3 separate regions of the Homo sapiens genome follow, and regions 1 and 3 are each linked to region 2. Evidence: promoter capture Hi-C in 16 types of primary human blood cells and fetal thymus (Javierre and others, 2016). All regions are on one chromosome and are shown on one strand. Each heading gives the region's core, a stretch centred on a gene start or on the middle of the fragment in contact. The rest is flanking DNA. Distances are from core to core; before and after follow the strand shown. Region 1 holds the start of GORASP2 (golgi reassembly stacking protein 2). Region 2 holds the start of ATF2 (activating transcription factor 2). Region 3 holds the start of METTL8 (methyltransferase 8, tRNA N3-cytidine).

The links. The method cuts DNA at HindIII sites, captures the fragments that hold promoters and counts their contacts. A CHiCAGO score of 5 or more calls a contact.
Region 1: the fragment with the promoter of GORASP2 here is called in contact with the fragment with the promoter of ATF2 in region 2 in 1 of 17 cell types (activated CD4 T cells); the score reaches 5.1 in activated CD4 T cells.
Region 3: the fragment with the promoter of METTL8 here is called in contact with the fragment with the promoter of ATF2 in region 2 in 3 of 17 cell types (monocytes, activated CD4 T cells and total CD4 T cells); the score reaches 12.5 in monocytes.

Annotation. Positions count from the first base shown.
Region 1 is chr2:170,927,306-170,930,749 of GRCh38, forward strand. GORASP2 (golgi reassembly stacking protein 2) reads left to right here and starts at 1,948. Exons shown (of 10, transcript NM_015530.5): 1 at 1,948-2,098. The coding sequence starts at 2,036. RefSeq lists a silencer at 1,727-2,426. The HindIII fragment of the contact is 11,137 bases long and covers 1-3,444 here.
Region 2 is chr2:175,166,473-175,169,761 of GRCh38, forward strand. ATF2 (activating transcription factor 2) reads right to left here and starts at 1,731. Exons shown (of 14, transcript NM_001880.4): 1 at 1,578-1,731. MIR933 (microRNA 933) reads right to left here and starts at 1,237; the gene lies at 1,161-1,237. RefSeq lists a silencer at 1,680-1,749. The HindIII fragment of the contact is 6,773 bases long and covers 179-3,289 here.
Region 3 is chr2:171,431,981-171,435,239 of GRCh38, forward strand. METTL8 (methyltransferase 8, tRNA N3-cytidine) reads right to left here and starts at 2,010. Exons shown (of 10, transcript NM_001321154.2): 1 at 1,903-2,010. DCAF17 (DDB1 and CUL4 associated factor 17) reads left to right here and starts at 2,246. Exons shown (of 14, transcript NM_025000.4): 1 at 2,246-2,723; 2 at 3,103-3,206. The coding sequence starts at 2,598. RefSeq lists enhancers at 1,244-1,413, 1,391-1,951, 1,624-1,693, 2,513-3,072 and a silencer at 2,004-2,913. The HindIII fragment of the contact is 4,328 bases long and covers 2,000-3,259 here.

The DNA of each region.
Region 1 (3,444 bases), core at 698-3,197, 4.2 Mb before region 2:
GTAAATGGCTTGTGTGGAGAATAACAAGCAGCCACTCATGAGGCTGAAACATACACTACAGCTCTAAGGAAGGGCTGGACTTGCCCATGGACCACCAACGATCCACAGCCTGGGTTCTATAGGCCGCGGCTGCCATCAGACATATGGGAGACAACTGGTCCAAAAATTTTGACCACTGAACATGGCAGCAGCTTCCATCATAAAGAGGGTTATAATTGCCAAGCAGAATGAGAACATTATAATTAGATCTAGTTCTTCCATTTATTCTCTTGCATTAAATGTATTAATTTGTTGAATTAGCTGCTAGGCATTCTGGTAAATATCAAGAACATAGAGCCAACTCCACTGCAGACCCTGTCCTTGAGGAGCCTAATAACTGGAGATTTCATTTATGGATTTATGGATTTATTAGGCCTCCTAAAAATCTGCTATTCACTTACCGATAGCAAAGAAAATTATTTTTAAATTTTAAATAATATTTTCTTATTACAAAAGCACTTCATGAGCATCATAGAATATGGAACCAGCCAAAACAAAAAATAAAATATCTCTGTCACCACCCAGAGATCACCACTGTAACCCTTGGTTCATATTCTCCTCCCACATCTTCATATGCATACATACATATTAATCTGTATTTTGAGGACATGTTTTTCATTTTGTCTACAGACACATCCCGTCTTGTAACCAGCTTTTAAAAAAGACAATAATTTCCACGTTTCCATGTGAATAACTACTCTTCTAATACTCAGTACATATTCAAATTTCTCCAAATGAACCAAAAATGTCCTTTACGCTTATTTCTCCAAGTTGGCCCCCAACTCAAGCCCTTGCAATGTGTCTCTTGGTTATATTCTTCGGGTTCCTTTTAATCTGGCATAGGCCCTTTCATAGGACTCTGACTCGACAAAGAGAACTGGCCAGCTGTCCTGAAGGAAGGCCCACTTCCTGTATTTGCCTGGTTCCCTGTGGTGTCATTTTACTTGCTCCTCAATTCCCCTTACTTCCTGTAAACATCAAACTCAAGATGCCATAGAGGCAAGTTAACCACCTTGGGCTAGAATACTTCATGGGCGATAGCACGTACTTTACATTGCATCACATAGGAATCCACATAATACCTGGTTGACGCAACATCAGTCCAACTGACCACAAAGCAACTAGGGGTTTCAGAGGGAGTACACGTAAGGGGCAAAAGCAGCAACGGAATACGACAACGGAATAAGCATGAATACGACCTGGCTACCTGAAGGAGGTAGGACGGGGAACCGAGCAGCAGCAGGTGGTGGAATGCCAGGGAAATCCAACCGTGCTTCCCACGCTGGCATCGCTCTGATTATGACCAATCCTCTAATCTTATTCTCACAATTAGGGAGGAAGAAAAAAAAACAAACCCAAACCAAAAAAGAAGTTGGTAGGTGACTCTGTGAGACTACTGTTTTATAAAGGGAGCGTTTCCTTTTATAAAATTTAGCTGAGCAGATGCTAGGCAGCCCACAGGAGGCCACTATTCCCCTCAGCTGTACAGTTTGGGAAAATACCTACACACCCGGAGAACAGAGAGCTTGGTGTGTGTTGAGTTCGCTCCTGTTCATCAGCAGCCCTTTCCCCGCCTCTGGCCACCAGGGGGACCTGCAACCAAGTATGTGTTCTTTCAGGCGAGCGGGAACGCGTCTGCATAAATCTAGTCCAATCCAGGGCCCCGTAGCAAGGCGCCAAAGCTGGGGGAAGCGCATTTCTGTTCTCTCGCGAGCACGACGCGGTGCCTCCCAGTCCTCCTCCGGCCCTCCCTCTCCGCCCTCCCGGCCCGCGAGCGCTCGGGCCCCTTCCAGTGGCTCGCGGCAGGTGGCGCTGTCTGCGGCGTCGCAGCGGCCCGGGCTGCAGCAGAGACGATCTCCCGGCGGGCTGTGCGGCCCGGCTCTCCGGCGGCAGCGAGTGCCACGTCCCAAGTGCTACGCGGAGGATTAGAGCAGGCGGTGCGCTGGGGGCGGGAGCAGCGCGGAGCCCGGCTCGGCCACACCGATCGCCCGCCGCCATGGGCTCCTCGCAAAGCGTCGAGATCCCGGGCGGGGGCACCGAGGGCTACCACGTTCTGCGGGTAAGGGCTCCGACGGCGGCCGGGGAGCTGCGGGCTGGAGGCGGGGCCGGCCGCGGGGAGGCGGAGGCCCCCATGGGCTCCTTCACGGGGCAGCCAGGCCCGATCCCGCGAAGGAGCGGCGGTCGCGGGCGCTGCCTTGGTCGAGGCTGGTTCCGGAGGCCGCTCGCATCCCACCTCCGCGGAGCGCCCTGGGCACGGGGTCCGCGGCTGTAGGAGGACGGGCTGGAGCTGGAGGCGGCTGCCGGCGACTCGGCCAGGGGGCGGCCCTGGGAAGGGGGGACAACCTTGCTCTTTTTCCGCACGGCCTTCTCTCTCCTCCACCCCCCCTCATTTTTAGCTTCCAAAGTTAGGAAGGGCGCGGAGGCAACGTCTCCAAAGTGGTGACTGTGAAGGCAGCCTTTGCGCTTTCCTAGGAGAGGGATCCGGACCCGCAGTCCGGAGGCGGGGCCTGCGGCGGCAGGTGTTAAATCACCTCGGCGCCGGCCGAGTGGCCTGAAAGACCAGCAGGGCAGGAGACGGAAAACCAAATGGCCTGGAAGTAGGTTCGACGGACTTAAACAGACTTGATTTTGACCAGACTTTTCCTTTCCCGTGCCACTCCTGACCCTCCCAAACCTTCTCAAGATTTCCTGGAGTGGGAACTTCCGTTCTGTTCCGATTGCTGAGGGTGTGGTTTAGATTATAAGGTTTAGATCCACAGTGGTAAAGAGGTAGTGCAGAGAAATTTTTTTTAAAAATCGGAGTATATAAAGGAAAACAACCCTAGCTTAACTTCCAGGACGCAGAGAAACATAGTATCTCAAAAGGCGTCAGCTAAGCCCCTACCTATGAACGGCCTGGGCCTGGGTGGTACAAAGCATGTGGTCTTTTCCTCATGGAACCGGGCGACTTTAGAAGTAGCATTGATGGTTGTTTGCTGTGACACCTGTGTGAGTGTTAACATGAACAGTCAACAGAGTGGCCGCAGCGTGTAGCGCCATTTAGGGGTGTAATAGAGTGTCACTCAATATTAGCTCCTCACAGGCAAGAACGTTTTCACTGAAAGTAAGAGAGTGCACTTCCTGGTGCTACCTTCATTTCCTGCCCTGGGTCCCATGTTTTAGGTGAGACACATTCTTAAATTGCCCAGCTGTCTATGTGATAGGGCTGAGACAGATCATCTTTCTGATCTTCCGGATTATCGTGTCTATTGCCTTTCCATTACACTAAAAATCCCTCCTCTGCCATACTCTTAGTAGGAAAGGGTGATTTTTTTTTTCCCCGAAAGGAAAAGGGAGCCTATAAATAAACCGTATTATCTTCCTATCCCCTTCTGCTAACCAAACACCCAAGAGCCACACTGAGAG
Region 2 (3,289 bases), core at 481-2,980:
TCTGTATATTTAAAACGTATTTTACAAGGATGTTCCTAACATTTTTGAAACAAAGTTTTTACGGTGGATTCCTCAAGTAAGGAAAAAAAAATTAATACATGATAAAACTGCTTCTGTGTTTGTACTTTAAGACACTTAAACCTGTAGGTTTGACTTTTTAACAAGCTTTTATAAATAAAGCTTTACCTTCATAATTTTGATTCAAGAGACCAAAGCTATATGGCTATTTAAAGATCAGAACGGCTGTTACTCACAATGATAACGCCAGTGGTCATGTTTCTTCAAATAGGACAAAAAGTGTGCTCAAAGAAAGTCAGTTTTTGTTCTGATTTTAAATGTATATCTTAAATGCATGCATTGTGACCGTCTCCATAATTTAAAACCTCTAAGAAATTTAAACTTTCACATTATAATTTAGGGATTAGTCAATCCCTTAGTACCAGTTAAATAATAGCCAGGAAAGCATTAGAAAACCTGAAGGTACATGTAAAGAAATGCTTTACATCACTATTTAAAATAGGTGTTGAATTTTAAGAGAAACATTTCTTTCACTAAAATTTCTGATGCCTAAGGTCCATCAGGAGTAATCTCTTTTACTCCATGATATTCACAGTAGTTTTGCTCTTGGCCTCACCAGTTTTAAGACTCTCCATTAAAGAAAGCCAATTTTATACTACCTAGGGGCACAAAAATAGTTCCCAGCTCCTCCTCTCTTTTTCCTCCTAGGTTCGGTTAAACGAGCGAACATAGAAAACACGTACACACACTCCCTTTCGGCCCTGGTCCCTAGGGCATTGATGAAAAGCAAATTATTTCTTTACATACGCTCTGCTGTCCACCCAGAGATTTAAAAAAAAAAAAATAAGGGAAAATACCAGAATCAGTCTGCACCCACACCTAAGCCCCGCCCCACCGGGAAAAAGCTGGGGGTAGCGGGATTGTGAGGGTGGCGGAAAGGACGGAAAAGGCCGAGACTTCCAGCTCCTAGGTTCTCCACACCATTCTTTCCTTCAAGCTGCACCGCAGCCAGGGACCCTGATTCTATTTTCAGCCGCGCCTCCCGATCCTCCTCCCCGCCACCATCACCAATACACGGTCCTCAATCGCTTGAATACTGGGTGGGGAGACCAGAGTGGGCCCTCTCCCCGCCCAACCCAAGGACTGTGGGTGGGAGAGGTCTCCCTGCGCACACGGCTGACTCGACGCGCGCCCCGAGGACCTCTGAACTGACCCAAGTAGGGTGAAGATAATTCGGAGGGAGGGGTCTAAGAGGGAGCCGTTATTCCTTTTTCCTCTGCCTTAGGAAAGCGCGCGAGAGGGAGGGGCCGGAACAACGAACGCTGGTTACCTAACGGTCCGGCCCAGCCAGTCAGGTTCCCAAAGCCCACACCGCGCGGGCCGCCGAGGTGGCAGCACAGCCACAATCGCCCCAAGGGCTAAGGAGCACGTCAGGAGCACCCGAGGTGATGGGAAACGGGGGGTGGGGACTGTGCTGAGCGACGTCGCCATGTTAGCGCCTTCTTTCTCCGTATCCCTACAGTCTCCAGCCCTGCTGACCTCTGCCCATCGTTACTCACCTTTCCAGGTCACTAGTTCATGATCCTTTCGGTCACCCGCGAGCCCTGAGCACAGCCGTGTTTACAAAGCACCCCTGGAGGAAAAGGCTGAACGGCACTTTAAAGGCCACGGGCTCCCACAGGCTTCCGTCCTCTCTCGCGAGATCGGACTGACAACCCCCGCCCGCTCGCCCCGCTCCCGGCATCCCCACCTTCCTTCTGGCGCCCCTCCCCTTCACCCACACGCCCCTTCTTGCCTTCCTTCTGAGGGAGCGCCTCCGAGTCAGGTGATTCCGTCAGGCTTAAGGAGAAGAAGGCGGGTCTTCGGCAGGGCGGGTAGAGGGGACGGGCATCAAAGAGCACTCGGGCGCTCATGATTGGACAAGGAGCCCGAAGGGCGGGAAGCAGTTCTGGAGGGGGCGGGACCAGAGGGCCCAAGGAGCGTTACTTCTGTAAACCCGGAGCTGTGGAAGACTGTGATTGGCTGTCGGCTGGAGGAGGGCGCGGGTGCAGGCGGCGGTGAAGGGCTAGGCAGGGCTTTGGCGGTGTGAGGGGAGGAAAGGTGGTGAGCTCCGGAAAGGCTGCTAGAGGGAAAGCAGGATGGGTCCTCCGAGCCCAGCCCCAGGAGCCGGGTGTCTCCGTTTCCGTCACTTCCCAGCACTAGGTAGGGAGGTGGGTAAAAGTAGGCTGCGTTCCTCAGCCCACCCCTTGGCTCCCCGGGAGCCTGAGGCGGGGAGCTTCGGGTTAGGTGAGGTTTGGGGGAGGCGGAGTTTGCTGGTAATTGCCCATCCCTCCCCTCCAAAAAACCCCACACAACTTAAAGATTTTAATATTAACTGTAAGGATGTTGGTTATTCAATAAATAGGCACAAGTTGAAAAGTATGATCAGAGGCCTCTGTGAGAATTTACATTATTCAATAAAAGATTTTCAGTGTCTTATTTTTTCCATTTATTAAATACTGATTTCTAGTCTGGAACAAAATTATGAACTAGTTTATATATTAACATAAAATACACTCTCAAAATTGTTGAAAGGTTTTGGGGGATAGTATGAGAGTTAATGAGCCTGAAGTTCAAGAATGATATCTGGCATAAAAGTGAAATTGTAATGGCATTGACATTTTAACAGGTAGGTCTCTGGACCGCATACATGTGTATAAGCCAACTCAGTCCTCTTTTAAAACTAATTTTAGTTAAGAAACATTAAGCCAAATTATTAACACTTTCCTACTTAAAATGAAAGTACCGTCCCCATATAGTAACAGTAATGTAGTAGTGCCATTGTAGTGTAACACTAATTATGTCAGCAAAACCTCACAGTTCAGATTACTCATGATGGAAATGGTGGACAAAATGTTTGATTGACATCACAATTGTTAGGTCTAGAACGCATTGATTAAATAGATGCTTCTCTCTCCATCTCCCAAAACAACTAATGTGAGAAAAAGAACTGCAAATGTTACGACATTTCAAAAGAAGTTTGGGTCAATTAGAATAGATTTTTTTAAAAAAATTGTTTTTCCATTTGAAATTTTTTCCAGTGTTGATTCAATTGGGCAGTAGCTTTGGTTTTAAATTTCTCATTGCTACTTCTCCAGTCTGTTGTCAAGCAGTTAGTTATCTACATGATGCATTCGAGAAACACATTATTTTAAAGAAAGTCTTTCAGTTCTTTTTAGACAAGAGAAGAACTGTTTAGTGATATGAACAGTACTCTGATCTGTTTTGATAA
Region 3 (3,259 bases), core at 760-3,259, 3.7 Mb before region 2:
CCAGCTCCTGTGCCGGCACTTGGAGCAACCAGCTGGATACCACACAACTCTGCACTCACCAGCTCAGACACCCTCTCCTGCCAGGGGCTGAGCCCACAGTCAGGTGGCCACAGGATCCACACCTGCGTGCAAGCCAGGAGTGGCCCAGTGGGCCAGTTGTGCAGGGCACCTCCTGTGGCAAGCCCAGCCCGAGCAAGGCCTGGGTAGGTCTCCAGCTGCGGAGGTCTCCAGTGGCAAAGCAACGTCAAAAAAAAAAAATCCTGTGTCACAAGTAAGGCAGAAATTAAGAGACTACTTAATAATGTGATAAAAAATGGTGAGGCCCTAAATTACTTAGGTGAAATGAAGATGAGATGGATAAGAGTCTAAAGGACTTGGTTGTGGGTGAGGAACAGCAAGGCATCCAGGATGACTCTCCCTTGGTGACGACTTGGTGGTGAAATAAAGGCCACAAGAAAGAAGACAAACAAGTGGGGGCAAAGAGGAAAGAGAAATGAGAGAGTTGATGAATTCAATTCAGAAATGATTTGAATTTCATTTAAGCCAAAGAAAACCCAGTTATCTTTTCTGGGTTCCAGTTTTCTCAGTGACAGCTGCATTCATGAATTACCAAATTAACTATTGTAGCACTCTCTAAAAATATACAAAGCACTCTACCGTATGCTGTAAATAAGTCATGAAAAATCAGCAAAAGCTCGAGCCCTGAAGGAAATTCAGCAGGGTTAAAAAGAGATATGGCCAATGTTTACTAAACACTTAAACTGTGACCCAACACACTCACCCAGTACTGTAAGTACTCACTTAATGTCATCAACAGATTTTTGGAAACTGACTGTAAGCAAAATGACATATAACAAAACCATTTTTACCATAGGCCAATTGATATAAACAAAAGTTAAGTTCCTATAACATATTTCTGGTCACAAAAACATCACCAAACTCCTAAATACAAACCAAAACACTTCTAATATTAAACATTGAAATAAATGGGAGCTATACATACATTTAAGGAAGATTAATAAAAACAAGTAAGATAGTTATTTACCTAATTATTCCAGTTCAGGGTCGAGGGTGGCTGAAGCCTATCCCCTCAGCTCAGGGTGCAAGGTGGGAACCAACCCTTGGACACGACGACATTCCATCGCAGGGAGCACTCACACTCACACTCAGACAGGAAACACAGACAAGGCCAATTCATCCAGCCTGCACTGAGATGTGGGAGGCAGTACCCTGGGGTACCTGGTGAAAACCCATGCAGACGTGGGGAGAAGGGGCAAGATCCACACAAACAGTAGCCCCGGTAGGAAATTATTATTTTTTCTCATCAAGTTATACAAAATGACACTGAACGAAAAAATGCGATTCAAGGACCTGCTGTACTGTACTTTTTGCTCTGCCAGTCAGGTGCGATCGCTGGCTTTCTTTGAGCACCTATGAACAAGAGGTAGCATGCCCAAGTCCACGTGGGAGATACAGCGGCCCCACCCTTAAGGGACTTAGAGCATGGCGGTGGGACACATGTGGTGCAAGCTTGCTGAAAGTTTAGTGTGCTGGGAACTTTGAACATACAGGCAGGGCTAGTTAACAAAGTATATCTTTTACTTAGAGACATCGACGAGGAATATCTTAGGCCGTCCAATAAGAATGTAAGCATTTCATATTTTATTCCCTATAAAGAAAAAAGAATGGAGGCGAGAGGAAATGAAATGAAGCAATTATCGCAAAACCAGTCAGTGTCCCCGCAGGCCACCCAAGGACAAGCCTCCGGGAAAGAGTAACTCAATCCCAGTTTGGAGGGTGAAACTAAGAGTGAATGGGAAGCCAGCATCTTCCTAATACAAAAGCACAGTTTACCGTCCCCCTCAGCCAACATGCGGCTGAAGGGAAAGCCGCGGGGCGTACCTTTAGCACGGGACGCTGCTTTGGGGGGATCGCCCTCGACACAGCGCCCCTCCCGGCACCTGGCCAGAACCTCCCAGGGCGAAGGTCGGGGCCGAGAAGCTTGTGAGTACCGGGGCAGTGAGGGAGGGATCCCTAAGTGCAGGGCGCACACACGGGGCGGAGACCTGGAGGCGGCAGCACCGCGCCCCCAGGGCTCTGCCCAGCTAGCCACTCGCAGCACAGAGAAGCGCGCCCGCAAGACAGCGCAGCCTCCGCGGGCCGGAGGAGGCGGGGCCGCGGCAGGCAGAGGCAGGGCCGGGCAAGCCCTCGCTCCCCGCCGCCTGACGGGAATTGTAGTTCCTGGGAGAAGCCGGGCTGCCTCACGAGGCACTAGGAACTACATTTCCCGGTGAGAGAGCGGCTCCGGCCGGCCGCGCGGTACCGGAGCGTCGCACTGTCAGCGGCCAGAGAGCCTGGGGCAGATCGAAAAGGGAGTGCTTCTTCCCTTCTCTCCGCGCTCTGGCGGTGCAAGCGGCTCTGCTTTCCCTCGCCCCGCCGTCGGGTGCTCCCTGCCCGCCTCCCCGTGTCAGCTTTCCCTGGGCCCCGCCGGGAAAGTCTGGGCCTCGAAATTCGAAGGCAGCGGCGGCTGCCCAGCACGGGAGTGTGGGGCGCGCCACTCGGCGGCCCAGCCTACCCAGGGCCCGGCCCGCGCCTCCATGGGCCCGACCCGGAAGCCCAACGTGTGCAGCCGGCTGAGTCGCCGGGCGCTGGGCTGCTTCTCGCGCGACGCAGGCGTGGTGCAGAGGACCAACCTGGGCATCCTGCGGGCGCTGGTGTGCCAGGTGACCGCCAGCCGGCCGGGGCGGGACGGAGGGCCGCGGGCGCGCGGCGGCCGAGCCTCCTGCGGGGATGCGGTTTTAACGCGCTGGGGCCTCCCTTTATAGGGTCACATGTGATGGGGAGGAGGATACAAGCCCGGAATCTGGGATAGGTGGTAATAGGGCCACCAGCTGCTTTTAGTTTTACGCTTCTTATGTCTTACCTGGAAACAATTATTCTAAAAGTTGGTCACCTCATTAAGCCAAAACATGAGGGCAGAGTGGAGGAAGGATGCAAAAAGTTTTAAAATAATATAGGTGACATTATGTTGCTTTGAAAATTTAAAATCTAACTTAAAGCCTAAGAGTTCTTTCCTGAACGGAAATTCTTTATGTCTTTTAGGAAAGTACTAAATTTAAGAATGTCTGGACAACTCATTCCAGGTCACCTATAGCCTATGAGAGAGGAAGAATATATTTTGACAATTATCGGCGCTGTGTCAGCAGGTAACTTTTTATTGATAATTTTGCTGTAATTCACCTCACTGTTGATCTTAACT